Linked DNA regions of Homo sapiens: region 1 is linked to region 2. Evidence: promoter capture Hi-C in 16 types of primary human blood cells and fetal thymus (Javierre and others, 2016). All regions are on one chromosome and are shown on one strand. The core of a region is centred on a gene start or on the middle of the fragment in contact, and the rest is flanking DNA. Distances in the headings are between cores, read along the strand shown. Region 1 overlaps UTRN (utrophin). Region 2 holds the start of STX11 (syntaxin 11).

The links. The method cuts DNA at HindIII sites, captures the fragments that hold promoters and counts their contacts. A CHiCAGO score of 5 or more calls a contact.
Region 1: a fragment that was not itself captured here is called in contact with the fragment with the promoter of STX11 in region 2 in 1 of 17 cell types (naive B cells); the score reaches 5.9 in naive B cells.

Annotation. Positions count from the first base shown.
Region 1 is chr6:144,404,090-144,410,335 of GRCh38, forward strand. The region is part of intron 3 of UTRN (utrophin); the gene reads left to right. SNORA98 (small nucleolar RNA, H/ACA box 98) reads left to right here and starts at 1,566; the gene lies at 1,566-1,678. The HindIII fragment of the contact is 4,083 bases long and covers 991-5,073 here.
Region 2 is chr6:144,146,905-144,153,148 of GRCh38, forward strand. It overlaps STX11 (syntaxin 11), which reads left to right and starts at 3,613. Exons shown (of 2, transcript NM_003764.4): 1 at 3,613-3,799. RefSeq lists a silencer at 3,300-3,739. The HindIII fragment of the contact is 10,810 bases long and covers 1-6,244 here.

The DNA.
Region 1 (6,246 bases), core at 1,782-4,281, 260 kb after region 2:
GTAGCAGCATAGTTTAAAAAATGCTCCACGTCCCAATATTTATAGTTGGTTATTTGATTTCACTGCTTTTTGGGCTTTGCGAGTTTATCTTGAGGGGTATTTTATCTTGCCTGTGAGTATGTAAGGAACATGAAAACCAACTTTGACAGAGGGTTAAAAATACAGAGAATTAGAACATAAAGGTGCTTGCATAATTGGCAGTTATATGTGTAGGATTATTCCAAATCACATGCAGGTGTGTTTTGGTAAATTTTAGTTTGTTTTATTCCAGAGACACAGGTAACATATGTGCATCTCGGGCTTGACATGAATAAAAACTTTTGAACTATTCATCTGCATGTGACCATTTTCCAGAGAATGTAGTTTTAGCAACTGGGAGTCTGGATATGAGGTGTTTTATTCCAGTGGTCTTATGATTGCTCATAAAAGTAAGATTATTTTTCCTGGTTATTCACGAGGATAACACAGTAATTGTTTAGATAGAACAAGTGAAGCAGTTTTTAGCAGCTTAATTTAGTCTTTGGGGAAGAATTGCCTTAGAACTAATTTTGAAGATTGTTTTGAAAGCATTAAACTTGGTAGACCTAAGTTTAGAGAGCATTTGAAACTGGGTAAATTACTTTTTACCTATTTATGAAAATGGAGAGAAATAGGTAGTAAAATAGGACATGGAAAGGGTTTGTAGAGGAAGAGAGATGACAACTGAGACAGAATAATTGAAAAGAAATTTCTCAATATTTATGGTGGGTCATTGACACCTTTAAAAAGACCTCAAAGAAAACAAAATCTGGTAGTACCAGACTAGTTTATTAAATGAACTTGATATTTAAATTTGTGCATTTATAATGTCTATTATTTTGCAATTAAATGGGGCTTTAAGTCCCATGTAAATTGTTTGCCCTGGAATATTTGTATTTCTTACCAAGATACTGGAAAAGACTTGGTAATTTTTATCATTTTTAGTAAAAGTTATAGTTAGTTTTAGCTAAAAGCTTCTCTATTAGTGTTTGGAGATGGTAGTTTCTAAGCTCAGCTTCTGTGTTAGTGTTTGGAGATGGTGTTTGGAGAAAAACTACCAAACGTGGGATGACTCTGAAAACTTTTATTTTCATCTAGCAAGAAATCAAAACCTAGAAGGAATTTATCTGAGAAATTATGAATATTTGGAGATGGGAAGCTCATGGCAGTGACACTAAACATCCACATTATTTTTTCTTTCTTCTGGCTGTCTTAAGACCATAAGTTGGATTGCTTCCAATTGGGGATAGTGAAAGAGGGAGTAACACATTTCTAGACTGGGAGATTTCCATAGACTCCCATGTGGCTTAACTCTTGCTGAGCTGGGGAAAGACCGTATTCATGCCTGGTATTACTAGGTAATGCGAGGATAGAACAAGAAAAAAAAATAAATCCCGTTGAAGGGAACGAATTTTTTTTTTCATTTTTAAAAATCCATGTCCTTTGGTACATTGTGGTGGGTTTTACAATATAATTTTTCAGTGGGTCCACTACTTCCCTACAGTGTGGGTTCCTAAACAGAGCAACAGGACCTCTGTGCTGAGAAATCCAAACAGACACTGATGGCACCTTCTGCCATTTAGGAATTTGTTTTAAAACAGACATTTGTCTAGATATTTCCTTTGTGGCCTCCTCCCCATCAAAAGTCAATCAAACATCGAGCCTTGTTAATTCCAATACCTACATATATTCAAAATTGTCCACTTACTCTATGTAGAGTGACACGTCTCTTTTCCAAGGCATTGTTATTTGTATTAGAAAAAATGGTGAGAGACTTTACAATGGGCAAAAAACTAGTGGGTGTCCTGTTAGCTCAGGCATCTGAATTATCTCTGCCTTTAATTACTTTTGAGCTACTTTACGACTAGGTAAGTTGTGGAAAATAGGTATGCAAATGATTCTTATCCATAAAAATGAAAATTATTTGTAAAGCAGTTAATTATTACTCCTTGGATAGACCAGTTTTTGCATCTATTGCAAATCTATTTCAGTTTTCATTTTTCTTGTGTAAAACATGTGTTTTTAAAAATTTTCCCCTGAACTGGTTGTAACAGCTTACTGGGTCCCTCATTAATTAATGAGTTAAATAAATCTTTGACAGACATTATTATCACATTGGTTTGAGAGTTATGACTTTACCTTGTTGGAAAATTATCCTTGAATACATGGACCACTGTGATAATCTGCTAATTGGTTCTTCCATTCCATGCTCCACCTTCTCCATCTCCCTTTCCTTTTTTTTTCTTTTCTTTTTTTTTTTTTTTTTTTTTGAGACACAGTCTAGCTCTGTTGCCCAGTCTGGAGTGCAGTGGTGCAATCTTGGCTCATTGCAGCCTGCAGCCTCTGCCTCCCAGGTTGCAGCGATTCTCCTGCCTCAGCCTCCCTAGTAGCTGGGATTATGGGCGCATGTCACCATGCCCAGCTAATTTTTGTATTTTTAGTAGAGATGGGGTTTCACCATGTTGGCTAGGCTGGTTTCAAACTCCTGACCTCAAGTGATCCGCCTGCCTCGACCTCCCAAAGTGCTGGGATTACAGGCGTGAGCCACCACGCCCGGCCTCCCCTTCCATTTTCAAGAGAGTATCTACGGTGCTTCTAAAGGGTAAACCTGAATACCTTTTTCTCTTCTGTAAGCTCTTTCGTTGGGTGCCCATTTTCCTTTTTTTAAAAAACACAATTAAAAATTGAAATTGTATAATTTTTGGTATATAGTGTGATGTTTTGGTCTTACTTGGTTCTTAAAGCTCTAAATAGCTGCCTCCCAATTTACTCCTAATTTTATTTTACTTTCCTCTCGCTCCCTCATTTTGCTCCAGCCACACGGCCTTTGCTTACCATCCCGGTGGGCCCTCCCTGGCCTTTGCACACAGTCCTTTCTCTATCTCTTCCTGGCCAGCTCCTACCCCTTCCTGCTTGTCTGAGCTTAAATGTTGCTTCCTGAAGGATCTCTTTTCTGAGCTCCCAGACTAGGGTAGATAAGCTGTATACTCTCAAAGTGTTATGATTTGAAGCACTTACCATACTGTAATTTAAATAGTTGCCAGCCTTTTTTCCTAGGTTAGACATAAACTCTGTGGGTGCAGGGACTTTCTATTTGCTTATTGGCATATCTTTTGGCATTTAGTAGGTATCCAGTAAACTATTTGTAGGCTTAATAAATAAATGAATGACAATGACATAGACATACATTGAATATGCCTAATTCTATATGTTCATAAGCCACTTGGGGATGGTTGCATTGGAGAGACAGGAGTAGAGTTTAGGACTGAGTGCAACATGGCATGAATTGTGCTAAGTCCTGGATATGAATACAATGCATCAGGACTTTTGCTGCATTATTGACAAAAATAAACAAATCCAGCTATCCAAACTTTCCCTATTTACCTGATTTCTTGGAGTTGTGCTGCAGTGATTGTTAAATAACCACTTGGACTTAATGCATATTATTGTTTTATTTACCCAATACAATTCTTCACATAGGGTCTAACTATTAAATTCACTGTGAAGAAAAATAAGACTTAAAACTTAAAGCCAGAACAATTCTTTTCTTGATAAGGGATTTGGTAAAGAACTTGAGAATAATATCAGTCTAAAACCATCTTTTAATTTGTAACTGTAAATGAATATACAGTAACCAAGACAGTGCTCACTCAAAATATGTATTCTTTTTGCTGCAAATCCTTGTGAACATATCATGGAGTATACAGTGCTTTGGAATTCAGGATCCTGAGAAGTCATAGTGTAGAGTAAATTATGGCTCTTGGATTTTTAAAAGTTATGAAGAGCTCAGAAAAAGTGATTATCTAAAAAAAGCTAAAAATTAGGAAATTAAACACTTATTTCTGGATATCCTGCTCATTTATTTATGACCTCAGGCAAATTATTAGTCAATTTTTTCAGATCACCTGGTCTACATTTCCATAGCCATAAGACGCAATCGATCATTATTACCTTCCTTATATCGTGAAGAAATATTGAGGCATTGCTGAGAAGTGTATAGGAGATGATAATTACTTAGGAATGCAAAATAAAAACCCTATCATATACCTCGAATCTGTGATAGTCCTGATCTGTGGATCCGTGCCACACGTAAACAGAAAAGGGAAAAAGCACTGGCTCATTAAGCCCGCGTTCTTCCATTGTATGGTGTGTATGACTTGAGTGTTTTGCCCCTTCTAAATTTCAGAGCCTCTGGCTTGTTAGCCGGCCGGTCTCCCAAGGGAGGCAGCAAAGGCCTCATTGCTTTGCTTTGGGAAATTTGCTCTGACTTTGAGCCTGCATTTTCTTTGGCTGACTTTCAGAGCTGCTCATCTGGCAGAGCTGAAAACATACAAATTGCAGAAGTTCTTTTATCCATTTGGTGAGATGGTTCTCTAAAGAGGCTTCACAAATAAAGGTTAGGTAGAAAATATGCAAAATTAAAAATGCTGAACTTGAGTTTGTGCAAATCCCTGCTTTTCTCTTTTCTAAGACACAGATGAGCCAAGTTTTCATGTAAGTTACAATTCCAACCTTGAAATTCAAATTGACAGAACGTAAGAGAGGAAAGCCATGAAGCATTTTTTATGGATTCCAATATGGAGAGCTATTAAGATGTTTTCCTTTAGGAGACAGTGAGACATTGCTTTTAGATTGTTTTCCTACTTTTTTCATGTTGGAAGTTAATAATCACTAAAATAAGGGTGGGAAAAGATGTGGAGGGAGATTTGTACAGGAGGTGCAATAAAAGGAGCCCAAACCCTTTTCCACCTCTAGATATTCAGTCTTCTCTTTAGTACTGTAAAGAGGCTGACAGGCTTCCTGTGTGAAGATAAATCCCATCTATAGTAGAGGCTTGAGCTTGAAGAGTTACACATTGGGTCTGCCATTGGTTTATTTCATGAGTATGCATATGGCAACTCAACTGATTGTTTTAGGAGCCATACACATTCAAGTGGTTCCTTAAAAAGAAATGTGAATTTGTGTCTATTCACTAATACCTCTAAAAAGAAAACAATAAAATGTACTCCATATTCTTAAACACCAGCTTCCAGATACTTTGGCTATACTTATGCAAGCTTTGTTGTTGTTGCTGTTTGTTTTGTTTTCATTCAATTTGAATTTTTAAAATTTGATTTTTGTCTCAAAATTGTTTGTAAAATGAACTTCACCTTGGTTAAAACTAAAAACAAATGATTAAAATTAAAACTGTCAAGTATTATTTAATATGCTATGCTTTGATGAGTACTTAATACAGGGTTTTGATTCAGCCTATTGGTATTCATAATTGTGAAGCAAATTTGGTAGTCTTTGTAATTGACGATCAGTTTAGAAATTGATCAACTGGGAGGAAATGACTTTTCACCCTTCACTTAGGAAGGAGTGAGCAGGACCACCTTCCTTGTGCTTTCCCATTCAGCCTCTTGTGGCCCCACCATCTCTAGCTTCAGAGATGGGCTCTGGTGGTGCAGGGAAGGGTGGGCTTATGCCAGGGTGGGAAGTAAGGTATCAAGAGGGGATTGCTGAGAGGTAGTGGTTGAGGGGAGAGAATCTCTACCTATTACACAGAGCAAGGAGACACTGGACCCATTTCCAGCTGTATCTGGCCTGGGAAGCTTTTAGCTGCAATTGCCACAGGTAACCATCCACCAGCCATGAGGGGAGTCACACTTAGGGGGAAGCTGACATTTATTTTTGTTATTATTTGTTGGAGAAATAAAAAACCCTGCCAACACTGGTACCTCTGGTTACCAACATAGAATACAGAGAAAACACAATTTACAATTAAGTGTGCATGTATGGTTAAGTGCATGCAGGCAGTTGGCTAAAGACGTCAAAGTCTGGACAGAATTTCACACAAATATTCAGTAAAGTGGGAGAAAGAACAATGAACACTTGTCTCTGTGAGAGACAACTAGATGTGCCTTGTTGTGATAGTCTCTTGTCCACCTTCTCAACAACTCCTGTGTTTAACTTAGCTTGAAAAACTGGAGACTGGATTTATCTATTTCCTGACCAAAAAAATTGGGTCTATTTTGTTTTAAGGAGACACCCTAAGGGAAGGGAAGGAGCAGTGTACCTGCCTCTCCTTTATATATATTGAACAAAGGAACTTTGATTTTATTTACCTTTACACTATCATAATCAGTGCTATTACCAGTGCCTCACCCTAGTCTCATGGAAGCCTATCTTTTGAAGGACTGCCTTCTTCAAACATTTCTACTGTATTGCCAGTTGTGTATACATGGA
Region 2 (6,244 bases), core at 2,363-4,862:
GGAGGGAAGGGGAAGATTGCTGGGGATTAAGTGTGGCATTTTGGACACATTCAGTTTGGAGTTGTTCTCTCCTGTTACCAGGGATGAACTCTTTCTTCTGTTTTACCCTAAATTTCCATGTGTGCATTGGATTGCACACCTGCTCATCTACTCAAGAACATTGCTCCAGCATGTAACCCATTTTTTCTCCCCCATATCATCCCTCTTTCCATTCCTTTTGGTTCATGCTGGTGAGCAAACAAACATGTATAGCTTCTAATTAAAAAAAAAAAAAACTGCTTTGACTATATGGTTCCTTCCTGTTTCTACTCCATTTCTTTGTCTTCATCTGATGTTTTTATTCTTTCACTCCAAACAGGCTTTGGTCATCCCCCACTAAAACTCTTCTTACCAAGCTCACCACTGACCTCCATGTGGCCAAGCCCATTCCTCAGTTTTCCGTCCTAATTTTACACACTGTAGCAGCATTTCACAGTTAATTGTTCTTTTTTACAAAAATTTTTTTAATTTGGCTCCTGAAACGTGCTCTCTCTTGGTTTATCTATCTCACTAATCAGAACTTCTCATTCTCTTTTTTTGATTCTTTATCTTCCTAACCTCTGAACTTTGGAGCATGCCAGGACTCAGACTTCAGACATCCCCATTCTGTCTGCACACCATCTATATGCTAAAGAACTCCAAATATATACCACCATCCCAGACTCACCTAACCAACTGCCTTCATGACAACTTGACAACTCCAAACTGAAGGTGTCCAAAATGCCACTCTTAATCCCCAGCAATCTTCACCTTTCCTCCCCATCCACAATTTACTTTTTCAGGCAGTCTTCTCCATGGATTCAAAGGTTAATCTCAGCTGAGCATGGTAACTGATGCCTGTTAACCCAGCACTTTGGGAGGCCAAGGTGGGAGGATCACTTGAGCAGGGGAGGTCGAGGCTGCAGGGAACCATGATCATGCCACTGCACTGCAGCTTGGGCAACAGAGTGAGCTGCTGTCTCAAAAAAATTAAAAATGTCATCAGCAAGCACCCTCACAGACACACCCAGGATAATGTTTTACCAAATATCTGGGCACCCCATGGTCCAATAAATTTGACACATCAAATTAACCATCACAGCTTTCTAACTCGTTGGCCTGTTTTAATCTTTGTCCTTTAATCTGTCCTCAACAAAACGGTAGATTAAAAAAACAACCAGCAACATCATTTAGCTTCTCTGATAAACATTCTTCAGTCTTCCTGTCTCAATCAATGTAAAATGTAAAGACTATCATGACTACCAATGCCCTACATGCTCTACTCCCCACTCCTAGCCCCACCACCATCACTCTTCCTGGACTCTGTTTTGCCCACGCTGATATTTCTCCCAGAAGCCCAGCATGCTCCTGCCTCGGGGCCTTTACATCCACTGATTCCTAGGCTTGAAATGATCTTAATCCCAATAGCTGCATTGTTTCCTCCCTCAATGATTCTCTTATCTTAGATGGCTTTGCAATATACCCATTTTTAAAAATATAACATACCTCATCCCTCTTATTTTACTTTCTTTTAAAATAAACTGTATTTTTTAGAACCGTTTTAGATTTACAGAACAACTGCAAAGGTAGTACAGAATTTCCATAAATTCCATTTCAGATTTCCCTATGATTACCATCTTACATTACATTCCTCACAACTAATTAATCAACCTTGATTCTTATTACTAATGAAAGTCCATGCTTTATTTAGATTTCCTTAGTTTTTCCCCAAGTCCTTTTTCTGTCCCAGGATCCCATCCAGGATACCACATTACATTTAGTTTTCACGTCTCCTGAGTTTCTTCTAGGCTGCGGCAGTTTTTCAGACTTTCCTTATTTTATTTTATTTTTTGTAGAGACAGCATCTGGCTATGTCGGCCAGATCAGGCCTCGAACTCCTGGCCTCAAGCAATCCTCTCGCTTCAGCCTCTCAAAGTGTACGGATTACAGGCGTGAGCCACGTCTGGACTGTACTTTCCTTACTTTTGATAACCTGACAACTTTGAGGAATATTGGTCAGGTATTTTGTAGGATGTTCCACTACTGGAATTTGTTTGATATTTTTCTCATTATGAGACTGAGGTTATGGTTTTCCAGGAGGGAGACCACACATGTAATATGCCACATTCATCACATCATATTGACTACATGCCATCAATGAGTCACGATTGTTGACGTTGGCTTAGAACATCTGGCTGGGGTAGTGTCTGTCGGCTTTCTCCATTGTAAACCTACTGTTTTTCCCTTTCCACATTGTACTATTTTGGAGGAAGTCACTGTGCACAGCCTAGGGTACATGATCTACATAAATTATTTGGAATTATTCTGTATAGGAGATTTGTCTCCTCTCCGCCTTTTATTTATTTATTCAATTATTTATTTATATCAGTGTAGACTCATGGATTTTTTTACTTTGGCTTGTAATCCAATACTACCTTGTTTAGTTTACTTCGTTGCTCAAATGGTTCCATCTTTGGCAACTGGGAGCTTTCAGGTGGTTCCTGTGTCTAAACATTCTGCCATCAAGGCAGGATTCGTTCTTTAGTTTTATTTTTTTTCTTCTCATTCAATTGAGACAGCGTCTCATTCTGTCGCCCAGGCTGGAGTACAGTGGCGCGATCTCGGCTCACTGCATCCTTGACCTCTCAGCCTCAAGTGATCCTCCCACCTTAGCCTCCCGAGCAGCTGGGATCACAGCGTGCGCCACCACGCCCAGTTAATTTTTTTATTTTTTGTAGAGATAGGCTTTCACCACATCGCTCAGGCTGGTCTCAAACTCCTGGGCTCAAGAGATCCTCCCCCTTCGGCCTCCCAAAGTGTTAGGAATACGCGCGTGAGCCACCGCGCCCGGCCCGATTTTTCCTTTTTTGAGTATCACTTCCTTACTTTTCAGCCTCAGCCTTGTTTTTCAAGGTGCTTTACCACCACCTGGCACAATCCACACTTTCTATTTATCCCTCCCCGTTAAAGTGCCGGGACCTGGAGGGTGGGTCTTGGCAGTATTTTTGAGCGCGGTGGGCACACAAGGGGACGCTCAGTTGATATCCAGAGAATGATGAGCCCGGCGGGTGTTGAGGCCGACTGGAGAGAGGTTGGTCGGCAGGGTTCTGGGAAGGCGGTGCTCGGCCTCCGTGTGACCGCAGGCTCCTCGCCCGCGTCCTCGAGGGTCCCAGGGATGCAGGACCTGCCGCAGCTTCCGCAGCCACACCCACGCTCAGAGACGGCTTCCAGCGTCCTCGCCGCGGCAACGCACCGGACTGCAAATGTCACCAGCGCAGCGGGGATTCCCGGGGGAAGTCCAGCGCGCTCCCTGCCCTGGGGACCAGAGGACGAGCGGAGGAAGTGTCTTGGGCGGCAAACATCCCACTCCCCGCGCCGGTCCGCGCAGCCCGCGGGAACGCCCCTGGGCTTGCGGGAGGGGCTGGAGCGCGTCCCCGGCTCCGGGCGGTCCCGAGCGCATGGACTCTGGGTGGGGCGGGAACCCGCGCTCTGTGAGCCGGCTGCCGCCGCGCCCCAGCGCTGTCATCCCGGGGCGGGGCCTGGTCCCCAGCTGTGGTCGCTTCCTAAGCGGCGGGGGCTGAGCCGGCGGCGCCCAGATGCGGCCGCGGCGGCGCGGAGCTCGGGCGGCCGTGGAGGAACTCAGCCTCGGCCGCAGGAGGCGCCGGGAGCGGAGCCGCCGGGAGTCGCGCAACAGGTTTCCTTCTCCATCGCTGCGCCCACAGGGGACGCGCGCCCTGCCGGGAGAGGGGCTTCTCGGTTCGCACTCTCGCTCCCAGTCCAGGTTTGTTTTTCTCTTCCTGAGCCCCCATTTCTCTTCCTGACTATTTTCCCCGTGCGCGGAGAGATCGGGGAGGGCGGGTCGGGGCGGGGGCACTGTCTAGGCTCGGGACCCGCGGCTGTGCCTTAGGTGGGATTTTGGATCTGGCGCAGGTCCTCACGCCGCCTCTGGGCACCTTCGGAAACACAGCATTGGGTTTCTCATATAAAGCAGAATGATTTTTTAAAATTACTTTTAATTTCAGAGGCTGAGGGACTTAGGATTTAGTGCTTCGTAAGAATTATTTTAGGGATACCTGTTGGTAGGCTGCCTTTATAAAGTGTCCACCCAAGACTACTTTTATTTTAAATCGAAAGGCTGGAGTGTTTTTTTATTATCACCTCTTCACTTCCTAGTAGGGTGACTGTGTCAAAAACACCAGAATGGGTACTTCTTGACTTGAACTTGGCGGTGTCACTCAGTAGCCAGGAAAGACGGAGAAATTGATAGAGCCTTCGAGGAGTCCCTTCGAAGCCCACGTAAGACTTTGTTTTAGAAACATGGAGAGAAGTAGTGGCAATGCCTGCGAGAGCCACGCCGTCCTGAGAGGGAATTCTGCCTTTTTCTAGACTCCGCTGACACCAGCTGAGATCTGTATTACTTCCTGTGGTTCTCACGCACTTGTTTCAGCCGTTTCTCAGCAGAGGGAGGAGCTGTTATTTACAGGTATCCAAAAATGAGTCACAGGGCTGCTCTCTTAATTGTGAGACTTTGTTAATGAACTTTTGAAAAGCGAGGCTTGCTTTAAAATGAGACTCTAGATGTGAAATGCCTGCCCTGCCAACCTGGGGCAGTGGTATGGGAAGTGACGATTGAGTTTTCAGTTTCCTAAGGCGCCTGATGTTACAACATGCCAGTAAAGGTCACTGGGCTGATCTAAGATAACCATTGAAATCATGTGCTTTGCCACAGATGCCCAAGAGAAAATTAATTTCATTATTCAATGACCATTTTGCTGTCATTTTCACTGCATGGGAGAAAGGTATCATTTAATGTGGTGATTGTAAGTAACTCTCTAAAATCAAAATATTTCAGACAGTTTGTGTTTACTAAATTGGTGCTAAAACCACATGATGATTTTTGAAGCGGGTGGGTCCCAGCGGGAGCAGAGAAATTTAAAAGTTGAAGCTGACAAGTCCTATTGCGGTGGGTAACAGCCCTTAGGAAGGGACTGCACACTATCTCAACACGGTAGAGAAGGGGACACCATCTCTACTGGAGCTGAGTTGAGCTGAATTCAGCCTCAAACAACAGTTACCAGGTACCTTCTCTGTGCCAGCCTCTTCCCTGAACCTTGCTTGTACAACCATGAATAATAGGATCCTGCCGGCAAGGTACTAGGGTAAATCTATACCCAGAGTGAAGTTTCTGTGCCAATATAACTCAATATGCTGGGTCCCAGTGTATTTAAAGAGTAGACTCAGCAGATTATCACCCCTAGATAATTGCGGTCACGATTAGTTGATAGTGTGACTTTTAAGAAATAGTGTGACTAATTAATAGTTTATTTAAATATGCTGGAAAATTCAATATAATGAGATAGGTGCTAGGGTAAATCTATACCCAGAGAAAAGTTTCTGTCCCAATATGACTGATGTTTCTGAAGATCTGGGATTTGGAATGGACTGGGTCATGGCTGGAAGAGCAAGGAAACTTTTGAGTTTAGTCATTTACTTGTCTTTGTAGGCAGCCTATTCTTCATTTGATACATGATTTAAAAATGTATGAATTTGAAAGGTATGGTTTTTAAAGTGCTTGAATGAACCATGTTTCATGTTATTTAATAACCATGTAAAACGAAATTCAGCTGATTATCACCCCTGGACAATTGCAGTCACCTTTAGTTAACAGCATGACTTTTAGGAAATGGTGTGACTAATTAATAGGTTGTTTTGTTTTGTTTTGTTTTTTGAGACAGAGTCTCACTCTGTTGCCCCAGGCTGGAGTGTGGTGGTGCAATCTTGGCTCACTGCAACCTCCACCTCCTGCGTTTAAGCAATTCTTGTGCTTCAGCGTCCCAAGTAGCTGGGACTACAGACACCCACCACAACACCCGGCTAATTTTTGTATTTTTAGTAGGGACAAGGTTCGGCCCTGTTGGCCAGGCTGGTCTCGAACTGCTGACCTCAGGTGATCTGCTTGCCTTGGCCTCCCAAAGTGCTGGGATTGCAGATGTGAGCCACCATGCCCTGCCTAATAGTTTATACATTGGTAACACTATATTGAAGCGAGTTTATGATCATTGTTTTTGTAGTTCAAATCAATGTTTTTTATCACATTATAGCCGTGTGAGCCAAAATGAATAAATCTACCGTATCACAGTTTACTGTTGCAATTGAAATCTGCTGAGATGCTTTTGAACTGGATGCCCAAGTATCAAGGTTTCCAAGTTTCCCCAGTTTGCTAAGA